Regions from separate parts of the Homo sapiens genome. Here all the other regions are linked to region 2. Evidence: promoter capture Hi-C in human tissues and cell types (Jung and others, 2019). All regions are on one chromosome and are shown on one strand. Each heading gives the region's core, a stretch centred on a gene start or on the middle of the fragment in contact. The rest is flanking DNA. Distances are from core to core; before and after follow the strand shown.

Region 1 (4,581 bases), core at 278-2,777, 140 kb after region 2:
TCTCAAGACCATCCTGGCTAACACGGTGAAACCCCACCTACTAAAAATACAAAAAAAAAAAAATTAGCCGGGTGTGGTGGCGGGCGCCTGTAGTCCCAGCTACTTGGGAGGCTGAGGCAGGAGAATGGCGTGAGTAGGGGGCGGAGCTTGCAGTGAGCCAAGATCGTGCCACTGCACTCCAGCCTGGGAGACAACGAGACTCCGTCTCAAAAAAAAAAAAAAAAAAAAAAAGACATGTTTAAACTCTGTCCCTTATGATAATGTAGGTTGTGATATCATGCTTATAATCAGTGTGATTACACAACACACACTACCCCTATGAGTTTAACACGTAACCAACCAATCTCACAGAGGATACAAGTCTCTCAAAGGAAGAAAAACTCTTGGTCTCCTTTCCAGTGTTGATATAATTGGTCAAAACATTTAACATAAACAAAGAAACTGAGGTGGGTGGGAGCACCAAGCACCAAAGATAGAAACAAATGGCTCTCACCTTTGCATAGTACTCACACTCAACAGTACCTAGAGCACATCTACCTGCCCTCGGGCTTTCTCTGTAACAGAACCACAAAAATTTACAATGGCCCTTTCCTCTCTGCCAAACCTTCTATCTCTTTTTTGAAAGCTTTACAATTAGTTGAGGGAGGTGGCTCACACCTGTAATCACAGCACTTTGGGAGGCCGAGGTGGGCAGATCACGAGGTCAGGAGATCGAGACCATCCTGGCTAATACGGTGAAACCCCGTCTCTACTAAAAATACAAAAAATTAGCTGGGTGTGGTGGCACGCGCCTGCAGTCCCAGCTACTCGGGAGGCTGAGGCAGGAGAATCACTGGAACCCAGGAGGCAGAGGTTGCAGTGAGCCAAGATCGTGCCACTGCACTCCAGCCTGGACAACAGAGCAGAAATTGTTTAGTTATTTCAAAAAAAAAAAAAAAAATTAGCTGGGCATGGTGGCACGTGCCCTTAATCCCAGTTACTGCAGAGGCCAAGACAGGAGAATCACTTCAACCCAGGAGGCAGAGGTTGCAGTGAGCCGAGATCGTGCCACTGCACTCCAGCCTGGGCAACAGAGAGAGACTCTGTTTCAAAACAAAGCTTTATAATTTGAAAAATCATCATAAACTAAATCTGTTATTAACAATCTGTATAGGGTATTACACTTTAGTGGGATGGGCCTTAACACCTTGTAAAAATGTTGAAATCAGTGTTTTGGAAATGCGTAAGCTTTAAGAATGTGTTACACAGCCAAGTACTTTAACAACTGCCTGAAACAGACTAGTAGAATCAAGTGCAAACATAAGCTATCCCGACATACTGTCTATTGGGGGAGCGGCACACCAGGACTCCAACAACCCCTAACCACCAGCCACCTGTCCACATATCAGGTCATTTTTATTTTTACGCAGGCTCTACTAGGGCTATAGAAGGACCTAAGTCAAAGTTTTAGCTTTTTTCTAAGAGGTCCCACATCATATACATAAACAAATTTAAGCCTACTCTACTGACGATTAAACCTTGAACATAAGAATACAATATCAGTTGCAAGCATTTGGGATTCTGAATCCCTTCTCTATAGATTTATCTATCAGACATCATTTAAATAGTTATTTACCCCTATGTTTACAACTTTAGGTATCCTGGGACTTGGGAAGGCTTTACACACATAAATAACTTAAAAATTAGTTGCAGAATCCTACAAGCAGAAAAGAATAGCAAATAATATACTTGAAGTATTTTTTGGTCTACCATTTCAAGAGCCTATATATTCAGAGTCATGACAGTTATGAGACTGAATAAATAGCATCAAAACCACCAGATCTGATTTACTTCTAACAAGACACACATCTTAAGGTGGAAGGATCGCTTGAGGCCAGGAGTTCAAGACCAGCCTGGGCAATATAGTGAGATCACATCTCTGCAAAAAATAAAGACACATATGTTAAGACCAGGCACGGTGGTTCACACCTGTAATCCCAGCACTTTGGGAGGCCGAGGTGGACGGATCATGAGGTCAAGAGATCGAGACCATCCTGGCCAACATGGTGAAACCCCATCTCTACTAAAAATACAAAAATTAGCTGGGCTTGGTGGTGCACGCCTGTAGTTCCAGCTACTTGGGAGGCTGAGGCAGGAGAATCGCTTGAACCCGGGAGGCCGAGGTTGCAGTGAGCTGAGATCGTGCCACTGCACTCCAGCCTGGGGACAAGAGTGAGACTCCATCTCTTAAAAAAAAAAAAAAAAAAAAAAAAAAAAAAGACACATATGTTAAAATTCTGTAGATTTAGGGAAAAAAAAAAAGACTTGCAGAACCTTAACTGCTCCCACCTCTACCAGAAATTGCAAATTACCTACTCAGAGAGTGTGAAAACTCAGTCCAGCTAAGCATTTAAAGTGACTGCCAATTATGACAGTGGTTAAAAATATTATACTTGTATCATTCACATAAATCTGTTTATAAATTGAATAAGATTACTATAAAATGTTAATTATTCTGGCTGGGCGGGGTGGCTCATGCCTTTAATCCCAGCACTTTGGGAGGCAGAGGCGGGCGGATCACCTGAGGTCGTGAGTTTGAGACCAGCCTGGCCAACAAGGAGAAACCCCGTCTCTACTAAAAATACAAAAAAATTAGCCGGGTGTGGTGGTGCATGCCTGTAATCCCACCTACTCGGGAGGCTGAGGCATGAGAATCACTTGAACCTGGGAGGCAGAGGCTGCAGTCAGCCAAGATCATGCCATTGCACTCCAGCCTGGGCAACAAGAGTGAAACTCTGTCTCAAGAAAATTTTTTTAAAAAGTTAATTTTTCTCTTTCAAAATTGTAAATTAATGCTTTTCTGTCTCCCTAGCACCTAGGCATAATGGTTGTCATTGGCAGGGCTCAAAACATAAGTTGAAAGAAAATGAAATTTCAAGTAAGCAATGGAAATCAAACTGCAAACATCAACAACATTAAAATGTAATCCCTTAAGGCAGATTTATCAGTTGTGTAACGGATTAATGTCATCTTAGGTTTTATGCAAGGTCAATAACATAGAATAACATTCCATTTTTGTTTTGTTTTTTTTAGATGGAGACTTGCTCTGTCACCCAGGCTGGAGTACAGTGGCCTGATCTGAGCTCAGTGCAACCACCGTCGCCCGGGTTCAAGCAATCCTCCTGCCTCAGCCTCTGGAGTAGCTGGGATTACAGGCACCCACTACCACGCCCAGCTAATTTTTGTATTTTCAGTAGAGACAGGGTTTCGCCATGTTGGTCAGGCTGGTCTCGAACTCCTGACCTCAGGTGACCCACCCACCTCAGCCTCCCAAAGGGCTGGGATTACAGGCTTGAGCTACCGAGCCCAGTCTGTTTTTTTCATTTTTAAAATAACAAGAAATAACATATTATAATCAGACTTTGCATATACCAATCTCTAGATTTTAAGGAGTTACAGTTTCAATTTTAATTTATAAATATTCATTTTACATGTTTTGATGTTATTTTACTAAAATGTCCATCTAGTCCTTTGATAAATTCAGAGATTTATGGTGGCAGTATGTAAACCAAATTAAAATGTACCATAAAACCAGGTAACTAGAATTTTATGTTTAATCAAACCATTTGGAAGCAGTTTAGTGAAATTTCAGTATCTTAAATTATACTGTTATTAAACTTATTTTGAAAAAGTTAAATATTAATACTGAAACACAAATCGTCCACAACCAAAAGTAAACCGTATCAATCAGATCTACATATTTAAACATTACAGTGATTTTTTTTTTTTTTTTTTTTTTTTTTTTGAGACTGTGTCTTGCTCTGTCACCCAGGCTGGTGACACCACACCCAGTGCAGTGGTGCGATCTCGGCTCACTGTAAACTCCGCCTCCCAGGTTCAAGCGATTCTCCTGCCTCAGCCTCCAGAGTAGCTGAGATTACAGGCATGCGCCACCACTCCCAGCTAATTTTGTATTTTTAGTAGAGACAGGGTTTCTTCATGTTGATCAGGCTGGTCTCGAACTCCCGACCTCAGGTGATTCACCTGCCTCGGCCTCCCAAAGTGCTGGGATTACAGGCATGAGCCACCGCGACTGGCCTATTTTTGTATATTTTAGTAGAGACGGGGTTTCGCCATGCTGACCAGCCTGGCCAACATTGGGAAACCCCATCTCTACTGAAAACACAAAAATTAGCCAGGTGTGGTGGCATGCACCTGTAATCCCAGCTACTTGGGATGGGAGGCTGAGGCAGGGGAATCTCTTGAACCTGGAAGGCAGAGGTTGCAGTGAGCTGAGATCACACCACTGCACATTCCAGCCTGGGCTACAGAGTGAGATTCCATCTCAAAAATAATAATAATAATAAGCAAAAATAAAAAATAAAATATACAAGATTTTCTGGGCTGGGCACAGTGGCTCATGCCTATAATCTCAGCACTTTGGGAGGCCAAGGAGGGTGGATCACGAGGTCAGGAGATTGAGACCATCCTGGCTAACACGGTGAAACCCCGTCTCTACTAAAAATACAGAAAATTAGCCAGGCATGGTGGCACACGCCTGTAATCCCAGCTACTCAGGAGGCTGAGGCAGGAGAATCGCTT
Region 2 (4,714 bases), core at 943-3,442:
ACAGAGTGAGTCTGAGTTTGTCATATGAAAAAATGGGAAAAGGGTGCTCTAAAAAGAGTAGTGGCCAAGCACGGTGGCTCACACCCGTAATCCCAACACTTTGGGAGGCTGAGGCGGGTGGATCACTTGAGGTCAGGAGTTTGAGACCAGCCTGGCCAACATGGTGAAACCCCGTCTCTACTAAAAATACAAAAATTAGCTGGGGGTGGTGGCACGTGCCTGTAATCCCAGCTATTTGGGAGGCCGAGGCAGGAGAATTGCTTGAACCCTGGAGGCAAAGGTTGTGGTGAACCGAGATGGTGCCACTGCACTCCAGTCTGGGTGACAGAGCGAGACTCCATCTCAAAAAAAAAGTATATGCAAAGCTTGGCATTGAAAGGATATGGTGAGGTTGCCAGGCATGGTGGCTTATGCCTATACTCACAGCTACAGTGGGGTAGATTGCTTAAGGCCAGGAGTTTGAAACCAGCCTGGGCAACATAGTGAGATCCTGTCTTTAAAAAAATTAAAAACAAAAATTAGCTGGCCATGGTTCCACATGCCTGTAGTCCTAGCTAATTGGGAGGCTAAGGCAGGAGCACCGCTTGAGCCCAGGAGTTTGAGGATGTAGTTAGCTATGATTGTGTGACTGTACTCCAGTCTGGGTGACAAGAGTAAGACCCCATCTCTTTAAAAAATAAAAATAAAAAAGGGTATGGTGAGTTTGAAAAACAGCAAAAAGCAGATAAAGCGAAAATGATTGTAGTTGATAGAAGGGCAGCATGGAGGATGAAAAGAGTAGAAACAGACTGGAGACAGGAAAGCCAGGTAGGAGGCAGTCTCTGTAATTAGGCAAGAACTAATGAGGGTGTGGACTAAGGAAGAAACAGTGGAAATGAAGACAAGAAGCTGAACTCACAGAAACATTTTGGAGGTCACATAAGCAGGATTTTGACAACAGATTCGTTTGTTGTATGAAGATCCTGGACTGAATGAAGTCTAGGGTTTGGGAGTTTTGAAGGGATAATGACCCATTAAATGAGCTGGCAAATACAGGTGGTAAAGCAGGTCTGGGATGTTCAGAGAAGGGTGGGAACACGGAATGGATGCCAGAAGCTGGGAGAAAAGCCAAGTTCATGCCTGTGGAAAAATGGAATTGAGGATGGGGCTAAAATTGGACAGAGGAAACTTAATCTGTAATGTTTTTCTTCTTTTCAAAAATAACTTGAAGTGGTTGTACATATCTGGTGTGATATACACAAATGCTTAATTTCTCTATTTTTAAAAAACTTCCCAAAATTAGTGCTTGGAATTATTTAAAATAATGTAGCAAACATTTTTGGAGTGCCTGCTATGTGTCTGGCACTGTTTCAGGCATTTGAAATATTTGCTCTCTATGAAGCCTTCCTTTCAGCAGTTAGCAGGCCTGGAGTTCAGAAGCCAGAAACTGGCTTCTGATTCTGACGCAGTCAGTAAGTGTATGACCTGGGCAAGTTGCTTCCCTGCGGCGTCCCACGCCCCCAAAACCCCCCACCCCCCCACCCGTGCCAGGAATCTATCGCAGTTCTCAAGTCCTGTGACTTAATACCGCAGCTGGCACCTCAGAATTCCTTATTCTTACAGAGCTGGTCCCCACAGTACCGCCCCTGGGCGTAAACTCCTCCATACAGGGAGTGTAGATGATGGGCTGACCTAAGAACGGTTTCCAAATGGTCCTTTACACCTCTGCCTCCCACCCCACTCTAGCCCAGGATAACAGATTTTCCTCGCGCAATTTCAAATTTGCAAGGGAATCTTGAATATTTTCTGGTAATGAGAGAGGGTAGATTATATGTCCTAATCCCAGCCTAATCAGATTAACAGCAACTTCTGGACATTCAGTACCAGGAACTGTTTTAGGTGCTGTGGAGAGAAGAGTTAAAAATGAAACAAAAATTATTGCCTTCATGAGCCTCACATTAGTGGACAGAGTCCAAAAAAAAAGTGACAACGTAATGCGCTACTGCGACACAAAGCAAAGCAAGGTGGGCAAGCAACACTAGTTCTTTATTCCCGCACGCCCTAATCCCCAAGTAGCTCTTCCGGGTCACTGCAGTCTTCACGGGCTCCAGACTCCGCCCATGGTCCGTCCTTCAGGCCTTGACTCCGCCCACGCATCGACGTAGAATTTCCCGGCCGGGCTCCATGAAGTACCACCCACCCGCGACGCCGACGCAAGGCTGCTGCTATGGGGCCGGGCGGCCGTGTGGCGCGGCTGCTCGCCCCACTAATGTGGCGCAGGGCGGTTTCCTCGGTGGCGGGGTCCGCGGTTGGAGCCGAGCCCGGGCTTCGGCTGCTGGCCGTGCAGCGGCTTCCCGTAGGAGCAGCGTTCTGCCGGGCTTGCCAGACCCCAAACTTTGTCCGCGGCCTGCACAGCGAGCCTGGGCTGGAGGAGCGGGCGGAGGGGACGGTCAACGAGGGACGCCCAGAATCGGACGCGGCAGGTACGGGCGTGGAGAAGAACGAAGGCGACCCTCTCCGGGCAGTCTGGAGTCAGGTCCCAGCCAAGGTGGCTCTGGGTTCCCCTCTATGTGCATTTCTCTTGGAGTCACAAAACTCCTGCACATCCAGAGCTGGAAGGGACTTCAAAGGTTGTTGGCGCCAACCTTCCCGTTTCACAGTGAAGAAATTGAGGGCAAGAGATGAACTGCAGAATCCCAGCCTCCCGGACGGCCATCTCCCACCCTTGGCATCACAGTCTCACCGTCCTCACTTCCTTTTACCCTCTTCCTAGGATCCTGGGAAATGGGTTTGTGGGGACTGTTGGGGCTTGAGGATTCTGAGGAGCCAGGGTCTGGGTGCGAAGGGGTGCGTAGGAAGCGCCAGTAGGAGATGGGTCCAAGTTAATATCCTCTAGTTATTGCTGACGTTTTTAGAAACTTAAGAATGGTAAACAGATCACATCTAAGAATGTAGAGTATGAGAGGGAGAGGCCTTAGTGGGCTTAGCTACTAGGTCCTTTGGAGTCGGCTTTAGAACTTGGGCGAGCTTTTAAATTTACAGCCTGTAATACTCCAAGCTGAAGATCAGAATATCTAAATCTTTACGGGAAAAAAAATTAGATTTTCATAGGTAACAGTTGTTAATAACCCGGTGGTTTTATATGAAAACTGGAAGGTTCAAAATAATAATTACTCAAAAATGTAGCTCTTTCAGTGACTGATCTTAGGCCACAGTAATTCTCCTAGGCCTCAGTTTCTTCATCTCTCAACTGAAGGTTGTGGACCAGATACTGCCTAAGAGCCCTTCCAGCTCACAATTCTGTGACCCGTTATGACTGAGATTCAATTTAATATGCTCCAGGATATCACCTCCTACCCATTTTGTGGTGCTGTTTTTCTTTGCACAGCATTTCTGTGATTGTGGTGTATTGCTCCTTTTAAGTATTAGTAGAAAGTCATTTGTCACTGGTGTCTGGTTCTACTTGCATATGGTTAATAGCGAAGGATGTATAGTGGCTCTGCGTAATCTGAGCACCCTGACCATAAAAGTTGAGCGGTGCTATGATACTACTGCCCAGGTTCACCTTCCAGGAGGCCTTTACCCTGCTATCTGTAAAAACACTTTGGATCTAAACACCCTCATGGAGGAACAGTCAGCTGCCGGCATCTCTGGGTGCATACACGTCTATCTGCTTGGCCATCCTGATACAAACAACTATTTGTGCATTTCAGATCATACTGGTCCCAAGTTTGACATCGATATGATGGTTTCACTTCTGAGGCAAGAAAATGCAAGAGACATTTGTGTGATCCAGGTTCCTCCAGAAATGAGATATACAGATTACTTTGTGATTGTTAGTGGAACTTCTACCCGACACTTACATGCCATGGCCTTCTACGTTGTGAAAATGGTAGGATGCTTTCTTTTCTCTTTTGGACCATTAACTGAGTGGAATAGTGACAGTGCATCAGGCCAAGGAGCAACACTTAGAGGGTAAACCCATCATACAAAGTTACAGAAGAAGCCCAAATTTTCAGAATTTGCATGAATTCATTTTATGTTCTTTGATAGTGAAACATATGGGAGCAAATATCCAGCCCTATTGAGTTAGGATATATCAAAATCTTTTCTCTTGTGACCGCAAGGAAGATTTTTTTTTTTTTTCTAATTGAGATGGAGTTTTGCTCTTGTTGCCCAGGCTGGAGTGCAATGGCGCGATCTCTGCTCACCGCAACCTCCGCCTCCCGGGTTTAAGTGATTCTCCTGCCTCATCCTCCTGAGTAGCTGGGATTACAGGCATGCGCCACCAGGCCCAGATAATTTTGTATTTTTAGTAGAGACGGGTTTCTCCATGTTGGTCAGGCTGGTCTCAAACTCCTGACCTCAGGGGATCCGCCTGCCTCAGCCTCCTAAAGTGCTAGGATTACTGGCATGAGCCACCTCACCCGGCCGGAAAATAATATTTTATAACCTGAGGCAAGCTAGAAGACAGTATAACCAGAGGGATTTCTAGAGGCACTATCCATTACGGTAGCCACTAGCTACATGTGCCTATTTAATTATAAATTAAAATATAAATTCAGCCGGGCGTGGTGGCTCAAGCCTGTAATCCCAGCACTTTGGAAGGCCAAGGTGGGTGGATCACAAGGTCAAAAGATCAAGACCATCCTGGCCAACATGGTGAAATGCCGTCTTTACTAAAAATACAAAAATTAGCTGGGCATGGTGGCGTGTGCCTGTAATTCCAGCTACT
Region 3 (4,562 bases), core at 34-2,533, 230 kb after region 2:
AGTTGTCACTATGATTTTAACTATTTTTTTTTTTTTTGAGATGGAGTCTTGCTCTGTAGCTCAGGCTGGAGTACAGTGGCACCTGATCTCAGCTCACTGCAACCTCCGCCTCCCGGATTCAAGCGATTCTCCTGCCTTAGCCTCCTGAGTAGCTCAGCTTACAGGTGCACGCCATCACACCCAGCTAATTTTTGTGTTTTTAGTAGAGATAGGGTTTCCCTATGTTGGCCAGGCTGGTCTCCATCTCCTGACTCCTTGATCTGCCCGCCTTGGCCTCCCAAAGCGCTGGGATTACAGGTGTGAGCCACCACACCCAGCTTCATTTTAACTTTCAAAAACAACTTACAAACTTATATTAACAAATCAGTAACTATTAGTAAACTTAACTGGAAGAATAAACTGCCAAGTATATAATTATTTAGAAATAAAGTAACATTTCTCAAAAGCTGTTACCAAATAAATGTCACTTTCACTGAACTCTGCATTAGGAATCAGGCTATAAGAAGTCCTTTATATAAAGAGGACAAATGCTAGGCTAATCCTTTTCTCTCTGACTCGTCTTCATTATGAAATAATTTCAACTTTTTCTCAAAGAAATTCATAAAACTATCCACAATTTGGAAAATGAATTGAAATTGCAAACAAAAAAGATTGCTGGGAATGGGTGGTATCTGCCCTGTTTCACTAGACTACTTGTTCTTAAAGCTGTCCAGTCAAGGAATCCTACCATTTCCTCAGTAATCTGGCTCCTGCATCCAATAACCATTAAAAATACACTGCCCGGTTTAAATGGGCAGATTAATAACTCAACTCGTATCATGAATTTTAACAAAAGTCTTAAATAGGCCTCCAGTCTATCTTATAGGCTATAAAGCAGAAGCCAGGCAGAAAAGTTCTTCTCACAGCACAACCTGCTTTAACAGGTTTTTGTTTTGATGTTTATTTGCTTGTTTGGTTTTTCTGTCACCCAGGCTGGAGTGCAGTGGCACAATCTTCTCATTGCAACCTCCAACTCCTGGGTTCAAGCAATTCTGCCTCAGCTTCCTGGGTAGCTGGGATTACAGGCACCCGCCATCGCACCTGGCTAACTTTTGTATTTTATTTTAGTAGAGACGGGGTTTCACCACATTGGCCAGGCTGGCCTCGAACTCCTGACCTCAAGTGATCCACCCGCCTCAGCCTCGCAAAGTGCTGGGATTACAGGCATGAGCCACTGCACCCGGCCTGCTTGTTTAAACTATTCTTTATTATCAAGATGACCCTGCTGTTGGTTGAAGGAAATGGCCAAAAATTAAAAGGAGGGAACTAACTAAAACACTAAGAAAGTGTTATAGTGTAACCAATACAAGCTGGTTAAGAATTGTCTTTCTGTGTTAAAATAGAGTTGTATTTTACACACTGTGAATAACCACAATAACCATGTACTATTCTTTTAATCAGGAAAAGGGTTATTATATACATGTACACAATGTTGCGGAACATGAACAATTCCTACAGCAAGCAATAACTGCAGTCTTTTAATATAGCCTGTGTCATACTATAAAAAGAAATTCCAACACAATATATATATGTGCTATCCATTAAAATAAATAAACTATTAAATGCTATACTGTAACTTACTCTAACATTAAGGCCAGGCAAATTCTATGCCATTTAATAGGGCCAAATTTACTCAAGTCCAAGTCTATGAGTATAAGCTTGTAAAACAGACTTACTAAAAATGTATTTTCCTGCTACTTTATGACACTGGCGCTCTATTTCCATAGATACACACTAGTGCATTGAGGAAAATCACAAGTACCCAAAAAGAAGGGAAATGTACCGAAATTATTCAAATACCTTACAATATTCATTTTACTACTTACTAAAGAACTTCTTTAGGAGTTGTAAAAAACCTGTATTTACTCAACCTCAGCCTATAGAAAGAACAACAGTTCTGCTTCCTTCCCCTTGAGTATGGGAGAATACTCTTACAGACCCCTATGAAGTTAAAGCAACACTTCCATTATCTTCTTAAACCGTAACTGCTATTAGAACAAATCCCTTAAAAAGAAGATAGCGACTGCTCATATTAAATTGAAATAATAATTTCCCTTCTTTTAAATGCAGCATGCCTATATGCTGCATTCTGAAGTCAATGTGGTCTTTATCTGCAAAGACTCAAACATATTCTAATTCTGTATGTTTCCTTATTCTCTAAAATTTAGAAGTCTTATCATAAATACATGATTTAGTAACTGACACCCACATATAATCAAATTTAAACTCATGCCATAATTGTGAAATCACCTGTAAAATTTATAATCTTTTGTACAAATTTTAAACGTGGTTCATAAGTCTCATAGCTTATATATCCTGATCAATTGTAATGTTCAAAAAACTAATGTATAAGTGGCAATTTCAAAGGTAGAAAAAACAAGTTTGTAAGGACTAATGTGATTTAACATTATGTTCTAATCTTCTGGAGTTATACAGTATTTATGAATCTTGGTAAGTCAGATGATAGGGTCCTGGTTTCAAGGAAAGATCACAACTTTTCTTCTACATATCAGTCAGGCCTAGTCACTCCATCTTTGGTGAAAGTCATGGGACAGTAAGGATTATATATAACTATATATATAAGTAACTTAAAAGGAGGGAAGGGAAACCATATTTCCCTTTAGTATTCTCCTCTCAACTTTTCTTCAGTGTATACAATCTTTCCCTCATCTAGTTGTTACTATTTTTTTCACCTCCATGCCTGTCTTGCTAAATTTGTGAGGACATATGAACAAATAGCAATCAGTTTTAATTCATTAGCACGTGAATACACATCTTTTAGTTATCTAATGGGTGAGCACCCACTGATACTATCAAAGAAAGTTTTCTGCCAGTCAAGTTCTAGGAAACTACTATGCTGATTATTGATGACATTTCACACTTCTTATAATACACATGCTACATCGTAGGTTAGAGTTTGGTTGATTTACAAAATTAAGCCCACAGACAAAGTGTTTTCCAAACCACACATCCCTAAATATTTAAATCCCTGGACATTCTTTCAGATCTCAAGGTTCTATATTCCATTTAATGAGTGGTACAAAGTATAAGCCTCTATGACAGATCTGTAAAATTAGTTATGCGCTGTGGGTATAATTACTTGCACTGCTCCTTTTCAAAATCTTGCCCTCTACTTATATTGAGCAGATCAACATCCTTCAGTGAAAGAACCTCAAATATAAAAATTTGAGATTTTAATTTTTTTTAAGTTTACAAATTCTTTGCTTAAATGGAAGGGGAGAGGAGAACAACTGAAAGCATTAAAATCAGATAAATGATAGTACTTAAATTTAGGAAAATAGATTAAACCCAAGACTCTCTTAGGTTAACACTATCCCTACTATAAGAAAGAAAGCTTTACCCTTATGTAAGGTCAATTTGATGATATATGGAATTAAATTGCTAAAGACGCTGAATAAGCAAAATGCTATGACATCTCTCACATTTATCTTAAAACTTCATACACAAAAAAATTTTAAGCCCAATTTAAAAGTTCTGTGTTTTTTTTTGTTTTGTTTTTGAGACGAGTCTCGCTCTATTGCCAGGCTGGAGTGCAGTGGCCGACCTCGGCTCACTGCAACCTCCGCCTCCCGGGTTCAAGTGATTCTCTGCCTCACCCTCCCGAGTAGCTGGGACTACAGACGCGCGCCACCACGCCCAGCTAATTTTTGTATTTTTAGTAGAGACTGTATTTCACCATATTGGCCAGGATGGTCTCCATCTCTTGACCTTGTGATCCGCCCGCCTCAGCCTCCCAAAGCGCTGGGATTACAGGCGTGAGCCACCGGGCCGGCCTTGTTTTGTTTTTAAACAAGCCAGTCACAGGCCTGGGTTTTGATAGTCATCATCCCTATCATTCTCAGATTTCAGAAAAGGACCCTCCCCCTATTTCTTCTATTTTTAACAAAAAATCTATACACACAAATCTTTTAATTCCAAATTGATACAGATAAATTTGTTTGCCTTTTTTTTTTTCGAGACAGAGTCTTGCTCTGTCGCCCAGGCTGGAGTGCAGTGATGCGATCTCGGCTCACTGCAACCTCTGCCTCCCGGGTTTAAGCAATTCTCCCACCTCAGCCTCCTAAGTAGCTAGGATTACAGGCATGTGCCACCCCGCAGGGCCTGTAGGAGTCTCTCAAAAATACTCCAGCTACTCAAGAAGCCAGAAGAAATCCTGAAAAGGAGGCAATAAGAAGCGGTATTTTTCCTCTTCAACTGTAGAAAACATAAATAACTCTGGAATTACAAGATAGGTCCCTAACAATAAAGAATCATTAACCTCCATGATCAACACTGGGATGCTGTATGAAAATTGCACATTTTTATAAAGTACAGTTCTTAAAATTTTAGGGGTAGAGGTGTAAAATGTTAAGAAAAGATTTCCATTCCCCTTAATTTCTATGAAGGGCATTAACATTTTTTGAGCTCAAAATCCGAATTTTAGTTGAAGCTGTATTGAGGCAAACAACTCATTACTTTTATCAAGACATGCAAAGCCACCGCTTAAGTGCTACCTTCACTCC

What was found. Contacts are between HindIII fragments. The study calls those that stand out against the background at their distance.
Region 1: a fragment that was not itself captured here is called in contact with the fragment with the promoter of MALSU1 in region 2 in 1 of the 25 tissues and cell types used here (pancreas).
Region 3: a contact is called between a fragment that was not itself captured here and the fragment with the promoter of MALSU1 in region 2, in 2 of the 25 tissues and cell types used here (IMR-90 fibroblasts and dorsolateral prefrontal cortex).

What each region holds. Positions count from the first base shown.
Region 1 is chr7:23,439,347-23,443,927 of GRCh38, forward strand. The region is part of intron 2 of IGF2BP3 (insulin like growth factor 2 mRNA binding protein 3); the gene reads right to left. Among named protein-coding and RNA genes, the nearest start is that of IGF2BP3, 29 kb to the right of the region's middle. The HindIII fragment of the contact is 4,095 bases long and covers 1-3,575 here.
Region 2 is chr7:23,297,147-23,301,860 of GRCh38, forward strand. It overlaps MALSU1 (mitochondrial assembly of ribosomal large subunit 1), which reads left to right and starts at 2,193. Exons shown (of 4, transcript NM_138446.2): 1 at 2,193-2,462; 2 at 3,693-3,871. The coding sequence starts at 2,207. RefSeq lists an enhancer at 2,010-2,499. The HindIII fragment of the contact is 12,532 bases long and covers 1-4,714 here.
Region 3 is chr7:23,524,671-23,529,232 of GRCh38, forward strand. The region is part of intron 1 of TRA2A (transformer 2 alpha homolog); the gene reads right to left. Among named protein-coding and RNA genes, the nearest start is that of TRA2A, 5.0 kb to the right of the region's middle. The HindIII fragment of the contact is 5,751 bases long and covers 1-4,159 here.